Linked DNA regions of Homo sapiens: region 2 is linked to region 1. The links are contacts of gene promoters, found by promoter capture Hi-C in human tissues and cell types (Jung and others, 2019). All regions are on one chromosome and are shown on one strand. The core of a region is centred on a gene start or on the middle of the fragment in contact, and the rest is flanking DNA. Distances in the headings are between cores, read along the strand shown. Region 1 holds the start of SCYL1 (SCY1 like pseudokinase 1). Region 2 has its middle 10 kb from the start of AP5B1.

What was found. The method cuts DNA at HindIII sites, captures the fragments that hold promoters and counts their contacts. A contact is called where the count stands out against the background at its distance.
Region 2: a contact is called between a fragment that was not itself captured here and the fragment with the promoter of SCYL1 in region 1, in 1 of the 25 tissues and cell types used here (stomach).

What each region holds. Positions count from the first base shown.
Region 1 is chr11:65,520,611-65,526,332 of GRCh38, forward strand. SCYL1 (SCY1 like pseudokinase 1) reads left to right here and starts at 4,473. Exons shown (of 18, transcript NM_020680.4): 1 at 4,473-4,654; 2 at 4,964-5,104; 3 at 5,311-5,433; 4 at 5,514-5,722. The coding sequence starts at 4,544. RefSeq lists a silencer at 4,321-4,820. The HindIII fragment of the contact is 17,278 bases long and covers 1-5,722 here.
Region 2 is chr11:65,767,922-65,773,894 of GRCh38, forward strand. No RefSeq gene overlaps it. Among named protein-coding and RNA genes, the nearest start is that of AP5B1, 10 kb to the right of the region's middle. The HindIII fragment of the contact is 6,006 bases long and covers 526-5,973 here.

The DNA.
Region 1 (5,722 bases), core at 3,223-5,722:
GGGATTACAGGCGTGAGCCACCAAGCCCGGCAGCTTGAAGTTATTCTTACATGCTTTGGCAGATGTTAAAACGTTTGTTTTTTTTAAAATTCTCAACATTTAGATCTAGGACAGAGCACAATTTAAATACTTTCTAAAATTAAATTTGGCTGTTACATAAGATTCAGCATTGTTTACAGCAGCTTTTCTGTTTCATGCGTTATAATATAAGATAAAGTAGAAAGAACACCAAAGGTTTTCCTATGATAAGTCATCAACAAAATAAGTGTGGGCCATTAGCAAGTAGCTCTTGATATCTTACAGTGGGCTGAACAACAAATACTTTCTCTTGAAGAATTTGGATCCCTGTTAGCTAAGCTTAAAGTTCCCACTATTTTATTTTATTATTTTATTTATTTATTTATTTTTGAGACGAAGTCTCACTCTTGTCCCCCAGGCTGGAGTGCAATGGCGCAATCTTGGCTCACTGCAACCTCCGCCTCCCAGGTTCAAGCAATTCTCCCTCAGCCTCCTGAGTAGCTGGGATTACAGGCATGTGCCACCACGCCAGGCTAATTTTTTTTTTTTTTTTTTTGAGACAGAGTCTCGCTCTGTTGCCCAGGCTGGAGTGCAGTGGTGCGATCTTGGCTCACTGCAAGCTCCGCCTCCCAGGTTCACGCCATTCTTCTGCCTCAGCCTCTGGAGTAGCTGGGACTACAGTCGCCTGCCACCACGCCCGGCTAATTTTTTTTGTATTTTTAGTAGAGACGGGGTTTCATTGTGTTAGCCAGGATGGTCTCGATCTCCTGACCTCGTGATCCGCCCGCCTCGGCCTCCCAAAGTGCTGGGATTACAGGCGTGAGCCACTGCGCCTGGCCTCGCCTGGCTAATTTTTGTATTTTTAGTAGAGACGGGGTTTCACCATGTTGGCCAGGCTGGTCTTGAACTCCTGACCTCAGGTGAGCCATCCGCCTCGGCCTCCCAAAGTGCTGGGATTACAGGCGTGAGCTACCGTGCCCATCCAAGTTCCCACTTTTTTTTTGAGATGGAGTCTCGCTCTGTCGTCCAGGCTGGAGTGCAGTGGTGCGATCTCGGCTCACTGCAACCTCCACCTCCCAGATTCAAGCGATTCTCCTGCCTCAGCCTTCCCAGTAGCTGGGATTACAGGTGCCCACCACCACACCTGGCTAATTTTTGTGTTTTTAGTAGAGACGGGGTTTCAACATATGTGTAGGGTCCAGCCCTACGGGGCTTAGCATGTGTTCTCCCCCTGTGTGGAGACTAGAGATTGTAATAAATAAAGACACAAGACAAAGAGATAAAGAGAAAACAGCTGGGCCCCAGGGACCACTACCATCAAGACGCGGAGACCGGTAGTGGCCCCAAATGGCTGGGCTCGCTGATATTTATTGTATACAAGACAAGGGGGCAGGGTAAGGAGGGTGAATCTTCTAAGTGATTGACAAGGTGAAGCAGGTCAGGTGATTACAGGATAGGGGGCCCTTCCCTTTTAGGTAGCCGAAGCAGAGAGAGAAGGCAGCATACGTCAGCGTTTTCTTCTCTGCTCTTATAAGAAAGATCAAAGACTTTAAGACTTTCACTATTTCTTCTACCTCTATCTACTACGAATTTCAAAGACGAACCAGGAGTATGGGAGGAGCATGAAAGTGGACAAAGAGCGTGAGCATTGAAGCACAGCACCACAGGGAGGGGTTTAGGCTTCTGGATGACTGCGGGCAGGCCTGGATAATATCCAGCCTTCCACAAGAAGCTGGTGGAGCAGAGTGTCCCCTGACTCCTCCAAGGAAAGGAGACTCCCTTTCGCGGTCTGCTAAGTAACGGGTGCCTTCCCAGACACTGGCGTTACCGCTTGACCAAAGAGCCCTCAAGAGGCCCTTATGCGGGCGTGACAGAAGGCTCACCTCTTGCCTTCTAGGTCACTTCTCACAATGTCCCTTCAGCACCTGACCCTATACCCGCCGGTTATTCCTAGGTTATATTAGTAATGCAACAAAGAGTAATATTAAAAGCTAATGATTAATAATGCTTATAACAATGATTGATAATTGTTCATGACCATCTCTATATCTAATTTGTATTATGACTATTCTTATTCTAACTATTTTCTTTTTTATACTGAAACAGTTTGTGCCTTCAATCTCTTGCCTCCGCACCTAGGTATTCCTCCGCCCACACATATGTGGGGGAAAGGAAGCGAGATCAGACTGTTACTGTGTCTATGCAGAAAAAAAGAAGACATAAGAAACTCCGTTTTGATCTGTACTAAGAAAAATTCTTCTGCTTTGAGATGCTGTTAATCTGTAACTTTAGTTCCAACCCTGTGCTCACAGAAACATGCGCTGTATTGAATCAAGGTTTAAGGGATTTAGGGCTGTGCAGGATGTGCCTTGTTAACTATATGTTTGCAAGCAGTATGCTTGGTAAAAGTCATCGCCATTCTCCATTCTCTATTAACCAGGGACATGATGCACTGTGCAAAGCCACAGGGACCTCTGCCCGAGAAAGCCTGGGTATTGTCTCCCCGACTGAGACAGCCTGATATGGCCTTGTGGGAAGGGAAAGACCTTACCATCCCCCAGCCCGACACCCGTAAAGGGTCTGTGCTGAGAATTAGTAAAAGAGGAAGATCTCTTTGCGGTTGAGATAAGAGGAAGGCCTCTGTTTCCCGTATGTCCCTGGGAATGGAATGTCTTGGTGTAAAGCCCACCAGTCATTCTATTCTGAGATAGGAGAAAACTGCCCTATGGCTGGAGGTGAGATATGCTAGCGGTGATACTGCTCTGTTACTCTTTGCTACACTGAGATGTTTGGGTAAAGAGAAACATAAATCCAGCCTACGTGCACATCCGGGCACAGTACCTTCCCTTGAACTTATTTATGATGCAGATTCCTTTACTCACATGTTTTCCTGCTGACCTTCTTCCCACCATCACCCTGTTCTGCCGCAGTCCCCTTGCAGAGATAGTGAAAATAGTAATCAGTAAATACTGAGGGAACTGAGAGACCAGCGCCGGTGCAGGTCCTCGTATACTGAGTGTGCCGGTCCCCTGGGCCCACTGTTCTTTCTCTATACTTTGTGTCTTATTTCTTTTCTCAGTCTCTTGTCTCCACCTGACGAGAAATACCCACAGGTGTGGAGGGGCAGGCCCCCTTCAAACATGTTGGTCAGGCTGACCTGGAACTCCTGACCTCAGGTGATCCTCCAGCCTCGGCCTCCCAAAGTGCTGAGATTACAAGCGTGAACCACTGTGCCTGGCCCTCACCCCAGTTTATAGATGGGGGACCTAACGCACCCAAAGGGAACTGTGTGAGTTCTCACATCCAATGAGGGGCTGAACCGTGATTGAAACCCAGCACCGTCTCACTGTGGCATCTCTGCCCTTGAGTTATCTCCCAAAGGCATCCCAACCAGACTTTTCATAACCAGTCCCAGAATCTCACCAGTGCTCCATAGCTGTGGTTGAGGCACTGTCCCCAAGCCTGGGTCCTGAGACCCTACCAGCAGAAGAACCACTGCCTGTCCAGCCCCTCCTACACAGCTCAGGGGCTGGATCCCCACCAGTGTGATGTGCTGATTGAGCTAACACCACTCCATGGCTGTCTACACAGGCACTGAGAGATGCAATCCGTTGGCTTGAGAGCCGGGCAGCTGAGCCCAGGAGAGCAGGGTCCCCTCCCAGCCCTTTGGCCTCTTCCAGACCTGCCCAGTTGCTCCTTCTCCCTCCCTCCTTTCCTGGGGTCACTTCTTCTTCCCTCCTCAGTCTCTCCTTCCTCCATTCCCTGGGTGCCCGCCCCTGCCCCGGGGTTCTGGACCTCCTTGGAACCTTGGATTCACTCTCTGCCTCTCACCCACGCTCTTTCTCTGGGGCGTCTCCTCGTGCTTCTCTCATGGTCACTTCACCAGGACCGACTCCTCCCCGGAGCCTGGAGGCACCCACTTGCTGGTGGGAGAGAGTGTCTGGCGTGGGGCCAGTCTCCCTCTCTGGGTCTCTGCCTCACTCCTCACTGCACCCTCTCATGCCTGTCAGTCTTTCTACCTCTCCCCCTTTTTGCCTCGGTTTCCCCATCCCTCTGTCCCTTCTTAAGCTCTCATCCTTACAGTACGCTAGAAGGCAGGCTCTATTATCCTTTAGGATTTAGGCCTCTTTAGATAAAAGGGCTCACAGGCTTGGAGGGTTTTAAGTGACTTACCCGGCGGCGGAGTACTGATCTTAGTACCGCCCGCCGCCCCGGACTGCCCCGCCCCTCCCTAGCCCCCCCATCCCCGCCCCTCCCTAGCCCCCCCATCCCCGCCCCTCCCTAGCCCCCCCATCCCCGCCCCTCTCCCGCCCCTCCCTTGTCCCCGCCCCTTCCCGCCCCAACTCAGGTTCTGCCCCACCCCGCCCCAATTCACGTCCTGCTCCGCCCCGACGTAGGCCCCGCCCTGGCCCCCGGGCCCCGCCCCCGTCTGACGCAGGCCCCGCCCCCTCTCCGCCCCGCCCCGGCTCGGGCGGCCGGAGGACCCGGAGCTAAGGCGCCCGAACCCGCGGCGGCGGTGGGGACGATGTGGTTCTTTGCCCGGGACCCGGTCCGGGACTTTCCGTTCGAGCTCATCCCGGAGCCCCCAGAGGGCGGCCTGCCCGGGCCCTGGGCCCTGCACCGCGGCCGCAAGAAGGTGAGTGCGGCCGAGCTCCGTAGGCCGCGGTCGACCTGGGCCTTGCCTATTCCGCGCCGCCGACCCCGTCGCGTTGCGCCCGGCCTGACGTGGCGGCGGAACCAAGGGGTAGCAGGCCGGGGAGGGGGCGGGCAGTGCCTACGTGGCGGGCGGAGGGACCGAGGGACCGACAGGCGGACAGGGCCGGGGTCACGTGGGCCCGGCGAAGTGTCCCTAAGGCTGACCTGGGGAGAGACCTGGCTGCGGGCCCTTGTCTTCCGGCCACACAACAGCTCTGGGACCATCTCAGGCCCCGCTGCCCTCCCCTAGGCCACAGGCAGCCCCGTGTCCATCTTCGTCTATGATGTGAAGCCTGGCGCGGAAGAGCAGACCCAGGTGGCCAAAGCTGCCTTCAAGCGCTTCAAAACTCTACGGCACCCCAACATCCTGGCTTACATCGATGGACTGGAGGTACCTGCTGCCTTGCCTGCCCGTCTCTGCCCCTCACGATGTCCTGGTTACCCACTCCTGTCTCCCCTCCTGCCCTGTTTCCACCCTATGTGCCCCAGCACCCCCAGATTTGGTTTCCTCTTCCCCATCTCTCCCAACTTCAAGTCGCTTATCTCTCCTTCCTCTCTGCCCCTCCGCCCTTGATAACCCTGTGTCCCCTTCCCCAGACAGAAAAATGCCTCCACGTCGTGACAGAGGCTGTGACCCCGTTGGGAATATACCTCAAGGCGAGAGTGGAGGCTGGTGGCCTGAAGGAGCTGGAGATCTCCTGGGGGCTACACCAGATCGTGGTGAGGTGGGGGGCAGTGGTGATGAGAGCAGGGATGGGGGGTTGCAGGTGCTGGGGCGTGATGGCTCCTTTTGCCCCCAGAAAGCCCTCAGCTTCCTGGTCAACGACTGCAGCCTCATCCACAACAATGTCTGCATGGCCGCCGTGTTCGTGGACCGAGCTGGCGAGTGGAAGCTTGGGGGCCTGGACTACATGTATTCGGCCCAGGGCAACGGTGGGGGACCTCCCCGCAAGGGGATCCCCGAGCTTGAGCAGTATGACCCCCCGGAGTTGGCTGACAGCAGTGGCAG
Region 2 (5,973 bases), core at 2,279-4,778, 250 kb after region 1:
CAGGCTGGTCTTAAACTCCTGACCTCAAGTCATCTGCCCGCCTTGACCTCCCAAAGTGCTGGGATTACAGGCATGAGTCACCGTGCCCGGCCTTCTTTTTCTTTTTTTTTTTTGAGACAAGGCCTCACCCTGTCACCCAGGCTGGAGTGCAGTGGTGTGATCATGGCTTACTGCAACCTTGAACTCCTGGGCTCAAGCTGCCATCCTCCTGCCTCAGCCTCCTGAGCAGCTAGGACTTCAGGCATGCGCCACCACACTTGGCTGTTGTGTTTTTTCTTTTTTTTTTTTTTAATTTTTGTAGAGACAGGGTCTCACTATGTTGCCCAGGCTGTTCTCAAACACCTGGCCTCAAGCTATCTTCCTACCTTGACCTCCCAAAGTGCTGGAATTACAGGTGTGAGCCACCATGCTCAGCCCATATATAGTATTTATAATCGTTCTCTTTGGTGTGGATGAAACACATCTCTATCAGACTGGCTCATGGGTGCAGAATTCCATAGGTACTTACTGAAAAACAGAAAATTGTTTCCTATAATCATGATACTTGAAGGATAGTTTGTCTGAATATAAAATCCTGGCTCACACTTGTAAAGGTGTAATGTCTAAAACCTGCTGCTCCATTGCTGTCTTGCTTTGTATGCTGGTTTAAAAAGTCTGCTGTTGGCCTGGCGCAGTGGCTCACGCCTGTAATCCCAGCACTTTGGGAGTCGGAGGCCGGCGGATCATGAGGTCAGGAGATCAAGACCATCTGGCTAACATGGTGAAACCCCGTCTCTACTAAAAAAAAATACAAAAAATTAGCCGGGTGTGGTGGTGGGCACCTGTAGTCCCAGCTACTCGGGAGGCTGAGGCAGGAGAATGGTGTGAACCTGGGAGGCGGAGCCTGCAGTGAGCCGAGATCGCGCCATCGCACTCCTGCCTGGGCAACAGAGCGAGACTCCGTCTCAAAAAAAAAAAGTCTGCTGTCATTCTCATTATTTAATTATTTTGCCTTTGTGAGTTATTTGATCTTTTTGCCTGGAGTCCTTGAGGGTTTTTTTAAAAGAGTCTTTGAGGCTGGGCACAGTGGCTCACACCTGTAATCCCAGTACTTTGGGAGGCCGAGGTGGGCAGATTACCTGACGTCAGGAGTTCCAGACCAGCCTGGCCAACATGGCGAAACCTCGTCTCTACCAAAAATACAAAAATTATCCGGGCGTGGTGTCAGGTGACTGTAATCCCAGTTACTCAGGAGGCTGAGGCAGGACAATCACTTGAATCCAGGAGGTGGAGGTTGCAGTGAGCCAAGATCATGCCACTGCACTCCAGCCTGGTTGACAGAGTGAGACTCCGTTTCAAAAAAAAAAAAAAAAAAAAAAAGAGTCTTTGAAATTAGAGTTTTACTAGGATATGTTTCAAAGTTGATCACACTGAGTGAATCTGCCCACATTCCCAGTGGGCTCTTCCAATGTGCAGAGTTTTTGCTCCTGGACAGTTTTCTTACAGTGTTAAATATTAGTTGTGGTTTACTTGTTTATTTTTTCTTCAGGGACTCCAATAATACACATGTGATTCCTTCTTTGAGTATATTCTGTTTCCATTACTTTCTTTGGACCCAGCCTACTTCTTTATCTCATTTTCATTCTCTTGCTTGGTTACCTGTATTCCTTCAATGCCCCTTATTAAATTTTTATTTGAATTTATTCTCCCTTGGGCATCTTGTAATTTAATCTTTACTTCTAGATAATTTTGTCTGTTTATTCCATTTCTTTCCTGAGTTCAACCAAATCTATTTTCATTTCTTCCTCTATTTTGTCTATTTCTGTTCTTTGTTTTTAAATTTCCCACCCAAAATGGTTTTGCATGTCTTCAAATGCTTGTTTTGCATATATTTGGTTCTGTTTAGTGTTGTATTACAGCTTTCTTCTTCTTCATGGCTATTGTTTCAGAGGTTTGTGTGAATTTTCCTTGGTTCATATGTGATGAAATTCATTTTCTGATATTTTGCAATAGCTGTATGAACCTATCTTTTCATTATTCATTTTTGTGGTATTGGGTGTTTTACAAGATCCCTAGATAACACGCCCTCTTCTGGCAACATTGTGAAGTCCAGATGCTTTAGTGAATTTGTTTTTGCAGGGGTGGGGGTTGTGGGCCTTCTTTTTTTTTTTGTCTTGGAGGGCAATTAAACTTCTCCATTTGCCTCTCTCTTCACACCCAAATGCCAAAGGACACTTTTCCTTTCTTTTGTGGGTAGTTGCTCCCCAAGGATCTATGTGTTTCCAAGACTGTGGCTTCACATTTCACGTATAACTTTTTTTTGAGACAAAGTCTCGCTCTGTCATCCAGGCTGGAGTGCAGTGGCACAGTCTCAGCTCACTGCAACCTCCACCTCCTCGGTTCAAGCGATTCTCCTGCCTTAGCCTCCTGAGTAGCTGGGACTACAGGCACATGCCACCATACCTGACTAATTTTGTATTTTTAGTAGAGATGGGATTTCACCATGTTGGCCAGGCTGGTCTCGAACTCCTGACCTCAGGTGATCCACCCGTCTTGGCCTCCCAAAGTGCTGGGATTACAGGCGTGAGCCACCGTGCCTGGCCTCACGTGTACTTTTAAACCTCCCACCTATTGTCCCAGCTCTGACACTACTGCAGACACTTTTGAACATTTTCAGGCTCAAGGTGTACTTAGTGTTTTTGGTGAGGTCTTAGATCAAGCTTAAGCCCCATTACAACTCCCTCCTCTCCTTTGCCCCAGTTTTCCTCAGCCAGTCTTGTGGCAGGTGGGGCTGGAATGGGTGCGTGGGAAGGAAAGTCTGAGCTGCCATTTGTTTTTCCTTTTTCTTTCTTTTCTTCTCTTCTCTTTCTTTCTTTTTTCTTTCTTTCTTGTCTCACTCTGTCACCCAGGCTGGAGTGCAGTGGTGCAATCAAAGCTCAGTACAGCCTGGACCTCCTAGGCTCAAATAATCCTCATATCTCAGCCTCCCAAGTAGCTAGAACTGCAGGTGCACACAACCACACCCAGCTAATTTTTGTATTTTTTGTAAAGACAGGTTTTCACCATGTTGCCCAGGCTAGTTTCGAACTCCTGGGCTCAAGGAATCTGTCCACCTCAACCTCCCAAAGTGCTGGGATTACAAACGTGAGTCACCACGCCCGGCCAGGTAATTTCTATGTTATTTGTTTTTCTTGTTCTTTTTAAGTTTGAGCATTCTTGTCTCCAAGTTATCCTGAGGGCTTGCTGTTGCATAATTTTATCTTTTCTCCTCATTCCATATTGTTTTTCTAGGCGACACTGGGGACCTACAGTGCTACCATTGTCCTCCTACCTGAAAGCCTCTGACAAAATATTGTCTTCCCATTCCATTGAAGGTTCAGAGGCCTCAGTGTCCAAGGGAGAATGCCGCCAGGAATGGACACTGCATAGCTTTTTTTGAACCGGAAGTAAAGGCTGCCCCGCTGTCGCTTTGCCTCAGGACCAAGAGCTCTAAGAGGAAGACTGACCCTGACTGTCCACCGAGAAGCTGTTGCTGCCATACAACGGAGACAAGGAGTCCATCGTATCCAGGGGATCCCCTGAAATATCTCTGAGGATTGCCAGGTTCAGTGACAGTGTTAATGAAAGCCTCAAGTGACTCAATACAAGCAGAATAACCAAGGACTCAGACCCTTCAGGAATGAAGTTTGGGTCACCTCATGAAGTAAAAGAACCAAAGGAACATAGAATGGGTATGGAAGAAAGAAGTTGTAAATATCAATCCAGGGTTAACAGATAAAATACAGGATGCTCAGTGTTAAAAGGAAAACTTTAGCTCAGGTAAGTTTCACAGTGTTTAACTGAGCAAAGAACAATTCAAGAATCAGGCAGCCTCTCATGCCAGAGTGGGCTCAGAGACTCCAGTGCAGCCACGTGGTGGAAGATTTATGGACAGAAAGGAAAATGAAGTACAGAAAACACACGTGAGATATAGAAACCAGCCAGATTGGTTACAGATTGGTGTTTGTCTTATCTGAACACAGTTTGAACAGTTGGCCACCTTTGATTAGCCAAAACTCAGTGATTGCCACAAGCGTTGGCTACAGTCTGTTTACAAGTCCATTTAGGTTATAGTTTACGATGTACAGAGAAACCTTTAGGCCAAACTTAAAATATGTAAGGAGGCAGCTTTAGGCTAAACGAGATTTAACACTGGTTATAGCCCGGGCACAGTGGCTCACACCTGTAACCCCAGCACCTTGGGAGGCTGAGGCGGGTGGATCACTTGAGGCCAGGAGTTGGAGACCAGCCTGGCCATCATGGCAAAACCTTGTCTTTACTAAAAATACAAGAATTAGCCAGGTGTGGTGGCACATGCCTGTTATCTCAGCTACTCAGGAGGTTGAGGCACAAGAATAGGCTGAACCCAGGAGGCAGAGGTTGCAGTAAGCCAAGATCACACCACTGCACTCCAGACTGGGCAACAGAGCAAGACTGTCTCAAAAAAAAAAGAAAAAAACAAAAACAACAAAAAAAACCCACCACTTATATCTGAACCTTGGAGAAACAACTACTGGTTTTTTAGTGTAAGTATGTCCTATTAACAACTAAAAAATTCATTGCTTCTCCAAAATTCAAACTTAAATGCACATCCTATATAATATTTTTATTTGCTAAACCTAGGAACCCTAATTAGGGCCTCGTAACTCATTGCACAAAAGATTCATACTTTCTTCCTTGCATGTAAAATAGAGATTAACCGATATCTTTCCCCATCTTTTCCCTTGTTTCATATAAAGTGTATTATTGATAATTGTTAACGAAAAAAAGAAAAGATACACAATTTATAAATTTTGAGAGGAGACTTTATTTCTTATAAAGGGTTAGGCTGGGCCTGGTGGCTCACACCTATAATCCCAGCACTTTGGGAGGCCAAGGCAGGAGGATCACTTGAACCCAGGAGGCCTTAACCAGCCTGGACAACATAGTAAGAACCCATCTCTACAAAAAATTTTACAAATTAGCCAGGTGTGGTGGCATGCACCTGTAGTCTTAGCCACCCCGGAGGCTGAGGCAGGAGGATCACTTTTGCCCAGGAGTTTGAGGTTGTAGTGAGCTATGATCGCACCACTGCACTCCAGCCTCAGAAAGGGAGTGAGACCTGCTGGGAAGCATGTCTCCAGCCAAGACCAGAGACAGGCACTTCAAAGAAGGAGGGGTTAGGGTAGGAGCTTCATGCTCAATGGATTGACTAAACATACACATTCAACAGGTTACATGAGGAGCTATGAATATTCATGAAAGTGGTTCTGACACATGCATATTGAACAAACATGCATGCAACATACAACCCATGGTCACTTTGGGGTGGAGACTTAACATTTAAATGTATTATAATTAGGCCCTATATGGCAAAAGGTCTTTTCAGGACACAAAGACATGCAAGTGCAGGAGCTCTGTAAGCCAGCCAGAACCAGTCCATGATGGGTAGTCACCTTGTCAGGAAAAAGTTACTGAAATCAGTCACTTGTCCAACCAAAGCTGTAGTTATGGCTGGTGGAACAGTGGTTGGAGGTCAGTTAGTCAGCATCTGATGAAGCTGAAAATGTTTTTAATATTGCTTATCTCAAAGCCAGTGCTTGGACCGGGTGCGGTGGCTCACGCCTGTAATCCCAACACTTTGGGAGGCTGAGGCGGGCAGATCACCTGAGGTCAGGAGTTCAAGACCAGCCTGGCCAATATGGTGAAACCCCATCTCTACTAAAAATACAAAAATTAGCCGGGTGTGGTGGCGGACACCTGTAATCCCAGTTACTCAGGAGGCTGAGGCAGGAGAATCACTTGAACCCAGGAGGCAGAGGTTGAAGTGAGCCAAGATCACGCCACTGCACTCCAGCCTGGGTGACAGAGTAAGACTCCGTCTCAAAACAAACAAAATAAAAAGTGGTTTTTGTTTTGTTTTGTTTTTAAGCTTTTTAGCTGCTACAGGGAAAAAAAAACCAAAAACAAAAAACC